Linked DNA regions of Homo sapiens: region 2 is linked to region 1. Evidence: promoter capture Hi-C in 16 types of primary human blood cells and fetal thymus (Javierre and others, 2016). All regions are on one chromosome and are shown on one strand. The core of a region is centred on a gene start or on the middle of the fragment in contact, and the rest is flanking DNA. Distances in the headings are between cores, read along the strand shown.

Region 1 (4,593 bases), core at 541-3,040:
GGGGCTGAGGCAGGAGAATGGCGTGAACCTGGGAGACAGAGCTTGCAGTGAGCTGCAAGTGGAGTGCCACTGCACTCCAGCCTGGGCAGCAGAGTGACTCCATCTCAAAAAAAAAAAAAAAAAAAAAAAAAAGAAAGCTCCCCAGATAACTCCAAAGTGCTGAGGGGTACTGGTTAGAAATGCGCAATCTCAGGTCTCTCCCCAAGCCTGTTCTGAGATAAAATCCACTCCTTCACTGAGTGGCTCACTGCCATCTTCCACGCTGGCTGGAAACAGACTGCATTTTAACATGACCCCCTACGTGAATTAGATACACGTTAAGGTTTGAGAATCATTGGTTGACACCAGTAGTTCTCAAACATTAGTGTGTATCAGAATCATCTGAGGGGCTTGTTAACTCAGCTTGCTGGGCCCCACTCCCAGTTTGACTCAGGTCTGAGGTGAGGCCCAGAGATAAAGTCATTTTGAACATGTTCCCAGGTGATGCTGATGCTGCTGGTCAGGGGCCCACACTCTGGGAACTATTGGTCTACACCATGCAGCTGTTATGTAAGTAGAAATTAAGGTAATGAGGCCGGGTGCAAGGGCTCACGCCTGTAATCCCAGGATTTTGGGAGGCCAAGGCGAGTGGATCACCTGAGGTCAGGAGTTCAAGACCCGCCTGGCCAACATGGTGAAACCCAGTATCTACCAAAAATACAAAAATTACCTGGGCATGGGCGCACCTGTAATCTCAGCTACTTGGGAGGCTGAAGCAGGAGAATCGCTTGAACCCAGGAGGCAGAGGTTACAGTGAGCCAAGATTGTGCCACTGCACACCAGCCTGGGTGACACAGCGAGACTCTCAGAAAAAAAAAAAGAAAATAAATCTGGATAATGAATTGGGGAAAAAAACCCCCAACCGGTATTATATAAGGTACATAGGTTTTGAAGGTAGAGAAACCTAGGTTGGAATCCCCACTCCACCCCTAATTATGAAAACCTAGAAAAGTTAATGTCTCTGAACCTGTTTCCACATTTATTAAACTACAGGAGAAACAAAGCTACCAGAATCACACTCCACTAAAGGTACTCTCCTTTGATTTCAACATGCCCTGATAATGTATTAGTGCACTATGTCTTACCTATCCCTTATTTTCAGACCTGAGTTAAAGGGGGTGGAACGCTCTCTCTTTACGACCTCACTCAGCATCCCGTCCAGGGCTGTGCATTGTGGCACTGAGCGTGGCAAGCCAGACTAGGCCAGTGACGAGGGGGCCTGGGAGCTAGGTCCCTGGGCATGGCCTAACGACCAGCCACCCGGCTGCAGCCTGATGAATCTGCGATCAAGCAAAGGTATGGGGCTGCTGCTGCGACTGCAAAGAGCAGTCACCGGACCTCGAGTCAGGCCCGGGTTCTAGAACAGGCTTTGCCACCTCCTAGGAGGGCGATCACTTAGCAAACCACTTAGCTTCTCCAAGCTAGCTAAGCTACCGGTAAAACGGGATGAGCACCGCTTACTCAGAGCAGCGGGAGCGGGTCTGGGGAAAGGAGCTATACTCGGTAAATGGGGAAGAAAACGCTTCCTGGGCTCCGGCACCTCCTTCCGGAGGTCCTGGCATCCCCCGCATTCCGCCCCGGGGCTCCCTGCACCGCCGACCCGGACCCACCACGCGACATTCCTTCCGCTTTCCCCGTCTGGGTCGCCGCCGAAGCTAGCGGGCGCCTGGACTGGCTGCCTCCCGCCGGCTGCAGCAGGACGGAGAAACCATGCCGGCGACCGGGCCGCTCTGTCCTCCGGGCGCAGAGTGCGTCAGTGCTCTGCAAGTCACCGCGTCACGGAGAAACTACAATCCCCAGAATGCTTCGCGGCGCGGGGCTCGTGCTCCGCAAATCCCGGCCTGCGTCATTGGAGTCTCTTTCACTAGAGTCGTTCATTCATTCCGCACGCATTCATTGAACCGGCGACCTGGGCCAGGCTCCTTCCCAGGCTCCGGCATGGAGCAGTGACCAAGATCAAGTGGCTCCCTGAGCTGATGGCGCTGCAGGGGAGAGAGTCTTAAGAAAACAAAGAAGAAAAATAGGGAAAAATTTCTTCAGAAGATTAAAGGTGTGATGTGATGGTGACAAGGTGGTCTTTTATTGGATTGTCAGGGGTGCCCTGAGAAGGTGACATTTGAGTTGAGATTAGTGACATGAAGCCAAGCTTGTGAAAACTATGGGAGGAGCATTGCAATTAGCGGGAACAGTTTGTTAAGTAAAATTTATAGGAGGCAGGGCCGGGTGCAGAGGCCCACACCTGTAATCCCAGCACTTTGGAGGACAAGGCGGAAGGATCACTGGAGCCCAGGAGTTCGAGACCAGTCTGGGCAACAATGGGGAGACCCTGTCTCTACAAAAAATAGAAAAAATTAGCCCACCGTGGTGGCGTACACCTCTGGTCCCACCTACTTGGGAGGCTGAGGCAGGAGAATTGCTTGAATCCAGGAAGTGGAGGCTGCAGTGAGCTCAGAAAGTAACACTTCATTCCAGCCTGGGCAACAGAGCAAGACTCCGTCTCAAAAAAAAAAAAAAATTGGAGGCCATTGGTTTGAACAGGGCTCCTGCACCAAGCCCAACAGAACCAAAATGGAGTCACTCATGCTAAAGTTCTACATCACCAAGTGGAAACTAAGTTGTTTATCTGATATTCCGATAAATCAGAAGAGTGAGAGATAGCTAGATCTCCAAACCATCCTGTTTTAGCTGGCAGGATAAGGAAGTCCCCTCTGCTTTAGCCTTCAAAGTTACAAGGAAAGTAACTTTGAAACAACCAATCTTTTTGTTTTCTGTTTCTGCTTTCCTCAGCCCTTTTCTGGCTGTAAAACCAATCTCCTCTGCTCAGCTCATTTGAACACTCATTCCATTTTATAGAATGAAGTGTTGCCCGATTCTAGAGTTGCAAATAAAAGTCAGATTTAACAAATTTGGCAAAAAAAAGTCAAATCACCAATTAAAAGTTAAATTTTTTCTTTTCACAGTTCATGCAAAGAACCTGGGGGAAATGACCTTGACAATTTAGGAACACAGGAAAGGCCAGGGAAGCTGGGGAGAGTGGTATAACAAGAGGCCAGAGAGGAAGCAGGAACCAGAGCATATAGGGCTTTGTGAGCCAAGGTAAGGAGTTTAGATTTCATGGTTAGGAGTGCAGCCTCCGGATACAGTGCCTAGGTTCAAATCTACTCCTGGCTAATTGTGACTTTGGGCAAGTTAGTATCTTCTCTGTGCCTCAGTCTTCTCATCTAGTACTAGAAGTGCTATGACAGGCTATTGAAAGGGAGCGAAGTGATTTGATTTACTTGTAGAGACAGGTTCTCACCCTGTCATCCAGGCTGGAGTGCAGTGGTGTGATCATAGCTCACTGCAGCCTCAACTACCTGGGCTCAAGTGATCCTCCTACCCAAGCCTCAAGAATAGCTGGGACTACAGGCACACGCCACTGTGCCCCACCTGATTTACATTTTTTAAAAGTCACTCTGTATAGCCTTGGAAAAATTACTTTCTTCCTCAGCCTCAATTTGCTTGTTATGAAAACAAAAAATTAGGCCTTTCTCAGAGAACTGTAAGATTTAAGTGACCTTCATTAATGTGTGAAAGCATCTGGCACAGAGAAGAAGCTCAGTAAATTAGGCTTCTTGGCTGGGGGTGGTGGCTCACACCTGTAATCCCAACACTTTGGGAGGCCAAGGCAAGAGGACTGTTTAAGCTCAGGAGTTTGAGACCAGCCTGGGCAACATAGTGAGACCCCATCTCTAAATTTTTTTTTGTTTTTGAGATGGAGTTTCACTCTTGTTGCCCAGGCTGGAGTGCAATGGCCTGATCTCGGCTTACAACCTCCGCCTCCCGGGTTGAAGCAATTCTCCTGCCTCAGCCTCCCAAGTAGCTGGGATTACAGGTGTGCACCACCACACCCGGCTAATTTTTGTATTTTTAGTAGTGACGGGGTTTCTCCATGTCGGTCAGGCTGGTGTCGAACTCCCTACCTCAGGTGATCTGCCCACCTCGGCCTCCCAAAGTGCTGGGATTACAGGCGTGAGCCACCGAGCCCGGCCAAAAATGTTTTAAGAAATTAGCTGGGTGTGGCCGGGCGCGGTGGCTCACGCCTGTAATCCCAGCACTTTGGGAGGCCGAGGCGGGCGGATCACGAGGTCAGGAGATGGAGACCATCCTGGCTAACATGGTGAAACCCTGTCTCTACTAAAAATACAAAAAATTAGCTGGACGTGGCGGCGGGCGTCTGTAGTCCCAGCTACTCGGGAGGCTGAGGCAGGAGAATGGCGTGAACCTGGGAGGCCGAGCTTGCAGTGAGCTGAGATCGCGCCACTGCACTCCGGCCTGGGCGACAGAGCGAGACTCCGTCTCAAAAAAAAAAAAAAAATTTAGCTGGGTGTAATGGGTGCACCTATAGTCCCAGCTGTCACAAGAACCTTAGGGTGTCACTCTGCCATCTGGAAACCTCTGTGGCTAGCAGCGCCTGTGCTTGACTTTTGCTTGTGCCTGCTGGGCTCGTTCTGCCTGCTCAGTCTGGCAGGCTGGGCTCAGCTTGCACTACGGGCTCGGATCCCACGCCTGCCA
Region 2 (4,593 bases), core at 1,481-3,980, 510 kb before region 1:
CTCCCGAGGAGCTGGGACTACAGGCGTGTGCCATTATGCTCAGCTAATTTTTGTATTTTTAGTGTAGATGGGGTTTCACCATGTTGGCCAGGCTGGTCTCGAACTCCTGACCTCAGGTGATCTGCCTGCCTTGGTCTCCCAAAGTGCTGAGATTACAGGCGTGAACCACTGTGCCCGGCCACTGAAGTGTTTTTATGTATTAACTCATTTAATCTTCACAACAACCGAATGAGGTAGGTACTATTACCACTGCCATTTTACAGAGGAGGAAATTGAGACACGGAGAAGTTAAATAATGTGCCTACTATTACATGTCTAGTAAATGCAGGGCCAATATTGAAACCGAGACAGTCTGGCTCCAGAGTCTTTGTTCTTCACCTCTACTTCGTATGTAAAGCAGTAATTCTCATAGTCCCCAGATCGGCAGCATCATCAGCCTTATCTGGAAACTTGTTAGAAATGCACATTTTTGGGTCCCACCCAACACCTACTGAATCGAAAACTCTAGAGGCAGGGCTTACCAATCCAAGTTTTGTTTTTTGGTTTTTGTTTTTTTTTGAGACGGAGTTTCACTCTTGTTGCCCAGGCTGAAGTACAATGGCGTGATCTCAGCTCACTGCAACCTCCCCCTCCCCGGTTCAAGCTATTCTCCTGCCTTAGCCTCCTGAGTAGCTGGGATTACAGGTGTCTGCCACAACACCTGGCTAATTTTTTGTATTTTTAGTAGAGACGAGACTTCACTATGTTGGCTAGGCTGGTCTTGAACTCCTGACCTCAGGTGATCCACCCGCCTTGGCCTCCCAAAGTGCTGGGATTACAGGCGTGAGCCACTGCGCCCAGCCACCAATCCAAGTTTTAACAAGCTTTCCAGGTGATTCTGATGGTTGCTGTTTGAGAACCTCTAGAAGCAAGGCATGGTATAAGTGTCAGAAATTAATCTCCTCATGAGTAAGGACCGGTTATGGTCCATCCCTTAAGTTCCCAGCCTCTGCATGGCATCTAGTGTAAAGCAGGCATCAAAAATTTGTGAGTTTATGGGAAAGTGATGTTTGAGCTGGGTCTCTTACCCCGCCTATCACTGCACCAGACCGAATAGGAGGGAGAATGGGAGTTCCCAGAAACTTTGAGACTAGCAAGGAAGTGGTTGTGATACGTCTAGCAAGATATGATAAGGGTCTGCACCAGCATAAGAAACCATCAGAATGGCAGTGAATCATGTGAGAGCAGTTCAGAAGGTAAACATGTCAAGACGTGGTGAACAGCTGAATAGATGGAAAGAACAAGGGATAGAGGAACTGTCATTTCTGACATGAAGGTGCTGTTCGCTGAGATAGGAAGCACAGGGCAAGTATGTTTGTGAGTGAAAGATAAAGTGTTTGGTTTGGACTTCTTAAATTTGAAGTGCTGGTAGGATATCCAGGTGGAGCTGTCCAGCAAACACTTGGAAATGTGAGTATGAGACATGGTTGGAAACAGAGATTTGGAAGGATAGTTGGGCCGTAAGAGTGGATGAGACCTTTAAGGGGAGAGTGGAATGAGAAGAGAGCTGGGTTTGGAACCACAGTGAACAGTTAATGAGGCAAAAGCAAAAGGGGCCCTTTAGAAAGACTGAAAAGGACTTAGGCAATAGGAGACTGCAGAAGATGCCGCAGCCAAGTAGAAGGCTCAGAAGGGAAGTAGAGGCACAGTGACAGATGCTGCAGAGAAATAATTGAAAAGTATCCTTTGGATGTCAACCCCAAAAGTCATTTAAGTGACGTGATGAGGGCAGAAGCTGATTGACAGTTCAGGCATGAACTGTAGATGAGAAAGTGGAGGCAGGTGCTTCCCAGGTCCGGCGGATAGAGCTCTGTAGCTGCACTTAAGTTCAAACTGTGACATCTTCCAGGGTAGGCCGCGTCTCTACTTATCTGTGGTCTCAGCGTCCAGCACATGGCGTGGAAGAGGGGGTGGCGTCAGTGAGTTCAGTGACTAGGGACGGAGAAAGACTTCGTGGAGGCAGTCGCTTTGCAGCCAAGGCTTGAAGGATGAGGGTGATTGGGAGGAGAGGTGGGAGGCAGGGCCCCTGGGCGCTGGAGTGCCAGGGGGTCTGGGAATGAAGTGGGGTTCCCATAATGTGTGCGCGCAGCTCGGTGCGACAGGCGGGGGCTGTGTGTAGGTTTGGAGGGACCTATTTGGGGAAAAGACACAGGGCTGAAGGCTGCTGTGGCGGGATGTCCCTTCGCCCTGCCCCACTTATACCACTGCGCGGTTCCAAGGCACCTCTACTGGCGCCCTCCCGCCGGGCTGCATGGCGACGGGTGACCGCCAGGGGCCGCTGCCTTGGGTCCCCGGTGCCCCCGCCCCTCTCCATTGGCCTTTGTTGCCGTCGGAGCGCCCCGCTTGACTCGTTCCGGTCCGCCCCCTGGGCCCGGCGGTCGCGCCTGCGCACTGGCAGCTGGCCGGGCGCTCGCAGTGGGAGCTGCTGCAGGCTCCGCGGCGGCGGCAACGGAGGCTGCGGGGGCGGCGGCGCGAGCGGCCGGGCTTGGTAGGGGAGCCGAGCCCGGCCCGGGATCCCGAGCAGCGAGAGTGTGGGGTACCTAGGCCCCTCACGCTGGACTTCACAGTCTCCGGGCCGCCTGACCTCCGCACGGGTATATGGGATGGAAGCGGGACCCTCGGGAGCAGGTAAGGGTCCCCAGGAGGGGGAACGGTGCATGCTCCAAGGACTGGGGGATCCCGCATGAAAAGCGTGGTTTCCAAGTGATGGAAGCGCTCCTGAGTGAGGAGAAGGGCTCTCCCACGATGGGGGCCCAGTTTGAAGGAGGCTGTGTGCAGTTCCGGGGGAGAACCATGTGAAGAGAGCCCTGAGATGGGGGCTGTTTGTCCAAGGAGGCTGTATACAGTCCTGCGGGTTGGAAGTAATCTGGGAGAAGGGCCTGCACGCACGGAAGGACTCCCAGACATCCGTGGAGGCCTACGGAGAGGCCCGGCAGGTGGCAGGGGACGGGCTCCAGGTGTCCAGGAGAGGAGGGGGCGACACAGATGGGCCTGGAGCTACCGCATGCCGGGGGCGGGGGCTCCGCTGGGCTGGAATAGGCTAATGTCTCTTGGGAGAAGGCGCCAGAGCTGGACTGTGAGCTCCGCCCCACTGGGCCTGACGCGAGGGCGAGGGTCAGGGGGCGGTGGGTGGGGACCCAGTCCCGGGATTACCCCCCGTGGGTCTGGGGAGTCGGAGCGGAGGCTCCAGAGCATGCGCGGAGGTGGCAGCTGGAAGGGGCTGCCCGACGTGGTGGGGGCGTGGCTGTCCGAATACCCCCACCTCTCCACACCCCCCCGCCCCGCCCCGTTTGGCTTGGAAAAAGGAGCGCGCTGATGGGGTGCATTCTCTCTTAGGTTATGCTGGCAGTGTGCAAATGGTTATGGTCCCCTCCCCCATTTTAGGGGCTCTTACACTTGGCCCTCAGTCACAGTTTGCTAAGAATGGGTTGAGGGAAGCTGCCAAAGTGCATTTTTCTGCCACAGGAAAGACTGGGACCGAAGCGATGGGTTCTGGGGGTGGGTCCTCCTGAAGATAGGCCTTAGGAAAGGTATTGGTTACGGAGGAATCAAGGACAGGGCAGGGGCTACCTGGAAGGAGTTGTCTGCTTGGTTTGCAAGTTTCTGCTCCAATACTGAGTAGTGATGGGGGCTTTTAATCCAAAGATTTTCCATTGAATTGTCTGTTAAGGTTACACTCTACATTTATAACATTTATTCTAATATTTCTTAATATTTTCATGGCTCCTATCTTCCACTGGATATCTTTCCGTTTTCCTCTCCCCACTCCCCAGAAACTGTCAGGGCTGTCTTTAGAGCCAAGATCTAAACCCTACAAACACGTTGGAGGATGGGGGAGTTTATAGCCTTCATCCTGGTGAGGCCTAGGTGATAGCCTTAACTTCTTATTTGCAGGCAATGAGGAGGAAAAGACATAGGAACAGAGGATAAACTGAGGCAGGATTGCCTCAAGAAAACTGGAGTCCTTAGGATGGGCTGTGGGGTGGTGATACCTCTTGTGTCTTAAGTGTCTTACCCTGTGATGGGACGAGGAGCCTGGACCTGGGAATCCTTCAGGTCATCTCTCACCACTTCCTTACATTTGGTCTGGGGATGGGAATCAAATTTCCATTTAGGCCATGAACTTCATTACTTTCCTAGTGGAATTATTTTGTTTTTTTTGTAGCAGACCTAACTCCCTCCCACCCTCCCAAGGAAATAGCTCCTACGACCTCACTCAAGTTATCCATTTAGTGATCTCTAAGTACTTAGTGACTGTTTTCCCTCTTAACAACCAGCCTTGTATAGACTGTGTAGTCGTAAGGATAAGCACAGGGAGCAACTGACTTGAGTACTTCCTCTCTGTCAGGACCCTCTCTCCATCCCAGGAACTTCTGTTTTTCAAGGCTGGGGACTATTTCCAACAACCCATGAACTAGAGTAGTGGGGTAGGTCATTGAGGTCCACATGGATTGCTGGTTGCTGGTACCCATTCTAGACTAATGATTTTTATCCTGATGAATTCCTAATAGGCTCTGGAGTGATGAAAAATTGACTTTTTAAAAATTTGTTACA

What was found. Contacts are between HindIII fragments. The CHiCAGO score rates a contact against its expected background, and 5 or more counts as called.
Region 2: a fragment that was not itself captured here is called in contact with the fragment with the promoter of LSM10 in region 1 in 1 of 17 cell types (fetal thymus); the score reaches 8.9 in fetal thymus.

The regions. Positions count from the first base shown.
Region 1 is chr1:36,396,118-36,400,710 of GRCh38, forward strand. It overlaps LSM10 (LSM10, U7 small nuclear RNA associated), which reads right to left and starts at 1,791. Exons shown (of 2, transcript NM_032881.3): 1 at 1,650-1,791. RefSeq lists enhancers at 936-1,648, 1,649-2,360, 4,078-4,593. The HindIII fragment of the contact is 5,014 bases long and covers 1-2,183 here.
Region 2 is chr1:35,880,780-35,885,372 of GRCh38, forward strand. AGO1 (argonaute RISC component 1) reads left to right here and starts at 2,430. Exons shown (of 19, transcript NM_012199.5): 1 at 2,430-2,667. The coding sequence starts at 2,643. RefSeq lists a silencer at 2,193-2,652. The HindIII fragment of the contact is 3,739 bases long and covers 862-4,593 here.